2 separate regions of the Homo sapiens genome follow, and region 1 is linked to region 2. Evidence: promoter capture Hi-C in 16 types of primary human blood cells and fetal thymus (Javierre and others, 2016). All regions are on one chromosome and are shown on one strand. Each heading gives the region's core, a stretch centred on a gene start or on the middle of the fragment in contact. The rest is flanking DNA. Distances are from core to core; before and after follow the strand shown. Region 1 has its middle 34 kb from the start of RAI14-DT. Region 2 holds the start of TTC23L (tetratricopeptide repeat domain 23 like).

What was found. The method cuts DNA at HindIII sites, captures the fragments that hold promoters and counts their contacts. A CHiCAGO score of 5 or more calls a contact.
Region 1: a fragment that was not itself captured here is called in contact with the fragment with the promoter of TTC23L in region 2 in 1 of 17 cell types (total B cells); the score reaches 6.7 in total B cells.

The regions. Positions count from the first base shown.
Region 1 is chr5:34,620,805-34,623,956 of GRCh38, forward strand. No RefSeq gene overlaps it. Among named protein-coding and RNA genes, the nearest start is that of RAI14-DT, 34 kb to the right of the region's middle. RefSeq lists a silencer at 141-501. The HindIII fragment of the contact is 1,834 bases long and covers 586-2,419 here.
Region 2 is chr5:34,837,547-34,840,998 of GRCh38, forward strand. TTC23L (tetratricopeptide repeat domain 23 like) reads left to right here and starts at 1,618. Exons shown (of 11, transcript NM_144725.4): 1 at 1,618-1,713; 2 at 3,119-3,193. The coding sequence starts at 3,126. It overlaps TTC23L-AS1 (TTC23L antisense RNA 1), which reads right to left and starts at 1,786. Exons shown (of 2, transcript NR_183259.1): 1 at 1,637-1,786; 2 at 1-1,471. RefSeq lists an enhancer at 1,908-2,017. The HindIII fragment of the contact is 6,317 bases long and covers 1-3,452 here.

The sequences.
Region 1 (3,152 bases), core at 253-2,752, 220 kb before region 2:
AACTTTAATTTATTTTTACTGGTTTGTAGACTACCCAGAGACACTGTGGGAAGATTTGTCAGATAGAATTCTAAAATTCTCATTCATTTCTTTTTATTTTTTATTTTGTAGAGACAAGGGTTTGCTTTGTTGCCCAAGCAGGTCTTGAACTCCTGGCCTCAAGTGATCTTCCTGCCTCTGCCTCCTAAAGTACTGGGATTACAGGCATAAGCCACTGCACCTGGCCTCATTTCTGTTTTTTTTGTTTTGTTTTGTTTTGTTTTGTTTTTTTGAGACAGAGTCTTACTCTGTCGCTCAGGCTGGAGTGCAGTGGCACCATCTCAGTTCGCTGCAATGTCTGCCTTCTAGGTTCAAGTGATTCTCCTGCCTCAGCCTCCAGAGTAGCTGAAATTACAGGCACCTGTCACCATGCCCGGCTGATTTTTGTAATTTTAGTAGAGACAAGGTTTCACCATGTTGGCCAGGCTGGTCTCAAACTTCTGACCTGAAGTGATCCGCCCACCTCGGCCTTCCAAAGTGCTGGGATTACAGGCATAAGCCACTGCACCCAGCCTCATTTCTGTATTTTCAATATACTTTACCTAAAGCTTATTTCACTGTAGGCTGGCAAGTTTCCTGGACAACATAGCATGAGAAAAGAATGTAAGTTTTGGAGTCAGAGAGGAATTTGCCCAAAGTCTGGCTCAGCCGTATTCTAGCTCTATTGTTTTGGTCAAGTCATTCGAATTCTTTCAGCCTCAGTTTCCACATCTGTGTAATGGGAGTCATAAGGATTATAAATAATAGTTGTAAAGTGCCTGGCTCCTACTAGACACCTGATAAATATCAGAATTATAATCATAGTGCCAAGGAAACATTACTTTCTCATATGAACTAGGGGACTTATACAAAATAAAAGAATGCCCTTTTCCACATCTGCAGGTTGTATCAAGTCCTGATATACACAAGTGGTCACACAAAGGAGTTCAAGGTTAAAGAATGAGGAGACTGAGCACCAACCCTTCCCTGGGTCCCTGCCGTTGGCACAACTCACAGCACTGCTAACAAAGGCTCAGGAACAACATCCTCATCACACCCATTCATCATTTTTCACCTTCCTTTTTGAGGTTAGGGATGGAAACTATTAGAGTTAGGAAAATGACTGTAATATTTTCCCCCAGTCATGATATTCTATCAATATGAAAGTTCCCAGAATATTCAACAGCCTCAGAGCTCACCAGGGTGGTAAGCCTAAACTTATTTGCTTTTAAAACATAAATGAAGTTGGTTCTGTAAATGTAACTTCTCACTGAGCCCAGAAATGAAAAATTCCAGCTTGTCACTGATCTCTTACAAAACTTGGAAGGAGCAATCTCCTTTCGTAGGCAGGATTCATATAAAACAGCCCAACTCAGTTCTTGTTTCTTTGTTTGCTCCATGTTTGGTTATAATTAAGTGTTTCATTCTTGAGGTTTCTTATCCACAGAGCTTCCCTGTAGAAGAGTTACCAGAGAATTATTTCTGCCTTTGCAAAGCAGGGAAGAGGTTCCCCCACCCACCTCTGTCTGAGCATTAAATCCCAGACACCAGCAGTTGGACTGAGCCCCACTTTCCAATCCTTTGATATTCCTTCCAATATTTTAGGGTGCAAGTCACCAAAACCAGAAAATCTTTATTGTAATTTTTTAAATTGCTGTTTGTTTAATTGATACCGACAACTAGTATTTCCTTCTTTAACTTTTCTATTTTAGGTTAGACCATGGAAGTTAAAGCAATGTGTGGAGGAAGAGTGTTGTGAGAAAAGAGAATATTAGAAGTAACTTTTATTTTTGGAGATTTTGAAAATAAATAGAGGGAAATGAGATAACCTCATGAAGGAAAGTAAGACTTAAGATCTGGAAGAGATTGAGTAGTTTCCTCATGTAAGGAAACCATAAACATGAAAGGTATCATGGTGACTTGAGTTGGGTTTTGAGAATGAGAAACTTGCTTTCCTCTCGGGCCTCCCCCACAAGTTGGGGAAGCCCACCTGCATTTTCAGGATGCTGGTCCCATGCCCAACCCAAGCATGTAAAATGGAAGAAATGAGCCCAAAGGGGAAGATTGGAAGCCCCAAAATGATCCAGGCTTTTCTCACAACTTAACTTGGTACATCGTGGCCCCAAATGAGAGCATAAAGTGAACCCAGACAACCATTTAAGTGGTAGACCTTGAAAAGAGCATGCTGGCTCCAGATTTTCTCACAGCAGCCTGCAGTTCTTCCCAAGGCTCTTTTCTGTGAGTTAGCTCATTCGAACTTCCTCCTAAAATGTCATGAGCTATCTGGGAGGAGTACATCGCAATGCCATTATTACCCATTATAATTTTAATTTGACTTGATTTCTCACATCATGGGTGCTGTGGACTGAATGTTTGTATCTCCACAAAGTCGATAAATTGAAGCTTTATTTCCCAGTGTGATACTATTAAGAGGTGGGGCCTTTGGGAGGTAATTAGGTTGTGAAGGATGAGCCCTCATGATGGGATTAGTTCCCTTATAAGAAGAGACATGAGGCCGGCTGCAGTGACTCATACCTGGAATCCCAGCACTTCGGGAGGCTGAGGTGGGAGGATCACTTAAGCCCAGGATTTGAAGACCAGCCTGAGCAAATATAGTGAGACCCTCCTCTCCATAAAAAAATTTTTTTGGCCAGGTGTGGTGGCTCATACCTGTAATCCCAGCACTTCGGGAGGCTGAGGTGCGTGGATCACAAGGTCAGGAGATCGAGACCATCCTGGCCAACATGGTGAAACCCCATCTCTACTAAAAATACAAAAATTAGCTGGGTGTGGTGGTACATGCTTGTAATCCCAGCTACTCAGGAGGCTGAGGCAGGAGAATTGCTTGAACCAGGGTGTCAGAGGTTGCAGTGAGCCAAGATAGCGCCACTGCACTCCAGCCTGGCAGCAGAGCAAGACTCTGTCTCAAAAAAAAAAAAAAAAAATTTTTAAGTTAGCTGAGTGTGGTAGCATGTGCCTGTGGTCCCAGCTACTTGGGAAGCTAAGGTGGGAGGATCACTTGAGCCTGGGAGGTTGAGGCTGCAGTGAGCCCTGATCACACCACTGCACTCCAGCTGGGTGACAGAGTGAGACCCTGTCTCAAAAAGAGGAGATATGAATACGTACAACTAATA
Region 2 (3,452 bases), core at 368-2,867:
TAGTCGCCAAAGTTATTTTATTTTGATTTATAATTTTTACAGATGCAGGCAACATGCTTCCGGTCAGAGCTAATGAAATGGAGGCCGAATTAGAGCGTTGGCTTTAGGAATGGGAATTCAGTGCCTGTTCTGGTTCTTCTCTCCACAATTATCAGCAAAAGCAAAGGTTTAGAAAAGAGACATTACCTTTAATATACTTAGAAACAATCTCACAGCCATTTCCTAGAATGAAAGAACATTAAAACCTTTCAATTTGATGACCAACTTAACAAGGGGTAAAAGAAATAAATGTTGGAGAACAGGAAACAGGTTCTTCCTTTTTACTCCCATACATGTTAAATACTGTTCATAGAGTCACAAAAATCGTTTACCCCTTACAGAAACCTGGAACCAGAAGGCGCTTCAGAAAGCAAGTGGTACAAAAACTTTCACCGTATAGGCAAGAAAATTGGGACCCACTGGCCGTGACTCGGCCCAGGCTACAGAGTCAAAACCAGAACCTTGACATTCTGAAATCAGGTTCATTGCTGTCATCATTGTTCCATGCTGAGAGTTTTCTTAGGAAAAAGAATAAAGTGGGGGAATCTTTCCAAAATTGTGACTATGGAGCTCGAAAGTACAGATTTAAATCTTGAGTTAACAGACCATACAGGTTTTACTTAAGAGATATTCAAGCAAACTCATTTAAATAACTCCTCCAACCTAACTCCAAAAAGGCTTTCTTGGCAGTCTTGGATCAATGGCAATTAAACTTCCAGCCTAGAGCTGGAAATAACAAACACCAAACGTAAACACCATCTTTCACATTCTCAATGTTCTCCTTGTCTCTCTACCTAGTCTGCTCTTTTCTGAAAACAACTGGGACACATTCACTCCAACTTGACTTGCCATAGGCCTAGTCTATGATAGGGTTCATAATAACATCCTTCAACATAGCGTTGCAAGAGCTGGCGCTGTTTCTTTGGGTATGGCCACAATTGCCTCTGCACCTTGTGTGTATTACACACACTGTATTCCATGCCAACGAAAGGGTAAGATATGGCTGCATTATTTAGGGCTAAGTGCTAAATAAATAATGAACAGCTAACCATTAGCAGATCTAGTAGTCGATTTCTTACCCTACTCTCTTCCTGCAATCAGCTTTCCTAACCATGCCTAGCTCCAATCTTACTGGGTAACACAGACGGTGCCAGCACAGTCAACAGCCATATCTAAGCCTTTCCTCTGGGGTCCATAAAAACAAAACTCCCGAGGAGCTGTGGGGGTGCACCGTGGCCAGGATCGTCGCCGAATACAGCCCGCACACGTCGCAGCTTTAAATAAGTAGGGCCGTGGGGCCCGGCGCTCCCTTCCATCCTTGGACGGAATGTATCTTCTCTTCCTACGCCTTCACCTCCGAGGGGTAAGGTCTCGTGAGATACAATATGCAGAGGCCAGTTTTGGGGCGAGCCGGAGGCCGGGCGCGTCTAACCTGCGGGGAAGGGAAAGCGGAGGGTAAGGCAAGGGCTGCTGTAGGCGCCAGACAACAGGGACTCTCCGAACCGGAAGTGCCCCGCGTCGCCATGGCTACAGGCGCTCCCAGCAGAACCCGTAGCGTTCCGTTCCCATGGCAACGGTATTGTCTCCTTGGCCGGACCTGGGCTGCGGAAGGTAACTGGGGACGTCGCAGGCTGTGCAGCTTTCGCGAGGCACCGCTTTGGCGCCCGGACCGAGGTGCGCCAGGGTCAGGAGGCCGACGCAGCGGGAGGAAGCCGCGCCGTCGGGCTCAGGGAGCTGGGAGGCTGGTTCCGGGGCGTGGTTTCTCCGCCTTGAGCCAGGTGCCCTTTGCGCACTCGCGCGTTCTCTTAGAGCCTCCGCGGCAGAGAGGCTCTCAGAGCTCGACCTGCGGCGTCAGGGCTTACAGACTTGCCGCAGAACCACAGCGGGAAAAGAGGAGCGATTCGTCCTTGAGGGGCTCAGGGCCGTGCGGAACGTCATAGGAACAGAGTCCGGGAGTTTGAGAGATCAGAACTCTTTGCTGTGGGCATAGTGTTTAAAGTGGAGGTTAAAAAGAGAAATTAGTGACTCTCCCTTTCTGATTTTCGGATAATGGATGCTCTGGAGCCTGGGTCAGAAAGCCACTCAGGGCTCGGTGGGAATTAGTGATTCTGGAGGGTGAAAGGAGAGGCGACTTGGTGGATGTTAACATTCAATAAGTAACTGCGTTCGATTTGGGTTTGATTTAAGCGACTGGCATAGCCTTCCTTGAGAGTTGAATTTCACAAATACTGTATTTAGAAATCACATTTTTCGTTTTGTGCTTCCGAGGTTTCTCCTATCATCTAACAGCAACAACTAAAACAGACACATGAATTTCATTTTATTGTTTTATTTTATTTTGAGACGGAGTCTCGCTCTGTCGCCCAGGCTGGAGTGCAGTGGCGCGATCTCCGCCTCCCGGGTTCAAGCGATTCTCCTGCCTCAGCCTCCCGAGTAGCTGGAACTACAGGCGTGCACCACCACAGCCGACTATATTTTGTATTTTTAGTAGAGACGGGGTTTCACCCTGTTGGCCAGGCTGGTCTCGAACTCCTGAACTCGGGTGATCCACCCGCCTCGGCTTCCCACAGTGCTGGGATTACAGGCGTGAGCCTCTGTACCCGCCTCGTGACCCCTGTACTAGAATCTGCTATTAATTAGTGAAATGACCCCGGGGGGGGGGGGGAAAGCAGAATTAACCAATACACTGGCTGTGCTTCGTTTACCACTGAGAGTTGGTTGCTTTGCTTAAATCCAACACGCCGTCAGACCTGCAAAAACAATATCTGAGTTAAGTAGGTGACCATAGTTTTGATGACCCAGGAACTGTAAATGTGCTTGCTTTGAGACATAAAGGCCAGGGATTTTGGAGAAGTAGGGTGGAGTTGAAATTAGGGGAAAGAAATTTAACTTAGACATTTAATTTGGCAAATGTCTGTTTTCCAGCGGTCTCCATATCTAAGTATGCGTAGTCTGTGGATTTAGGATGGGTTATATATTTGAGCAGTTTTAGTTTAATGTTAATAGCAAACCAGAGGGGGAAAATAGAACAGACACCCAGCCTTTTCTCTCAAAGCTGACCTTACCTGATTCTTGGTAGGAAGAAGATGCAAGCCAGCCCCATCCGTATCCCAACTGTTAGCAATGACATCGACTGGGATTTCTGCTTCCATATGTAAGTATCACAGCATTTTGACATCACAGGTACTTACTGGGCTGAAACACTGGGACCTCCTGCTTAAGGCAAACCTGGGTGAGGAGCTTTGCATGAGAAGCGTTCACGACCAGCCTGACCAACATGGTGAAACCCCGTCTCTACTAAAAATACAAAAATTAGCTGCGCGGTAGTGGCACGCGACTGTAATCCCAGCTACTCGGGAGGCTGAGGCAGGAGAATAGCTGAACCCGGAGGCAGAGGTTGTGGTGGGCTGAGA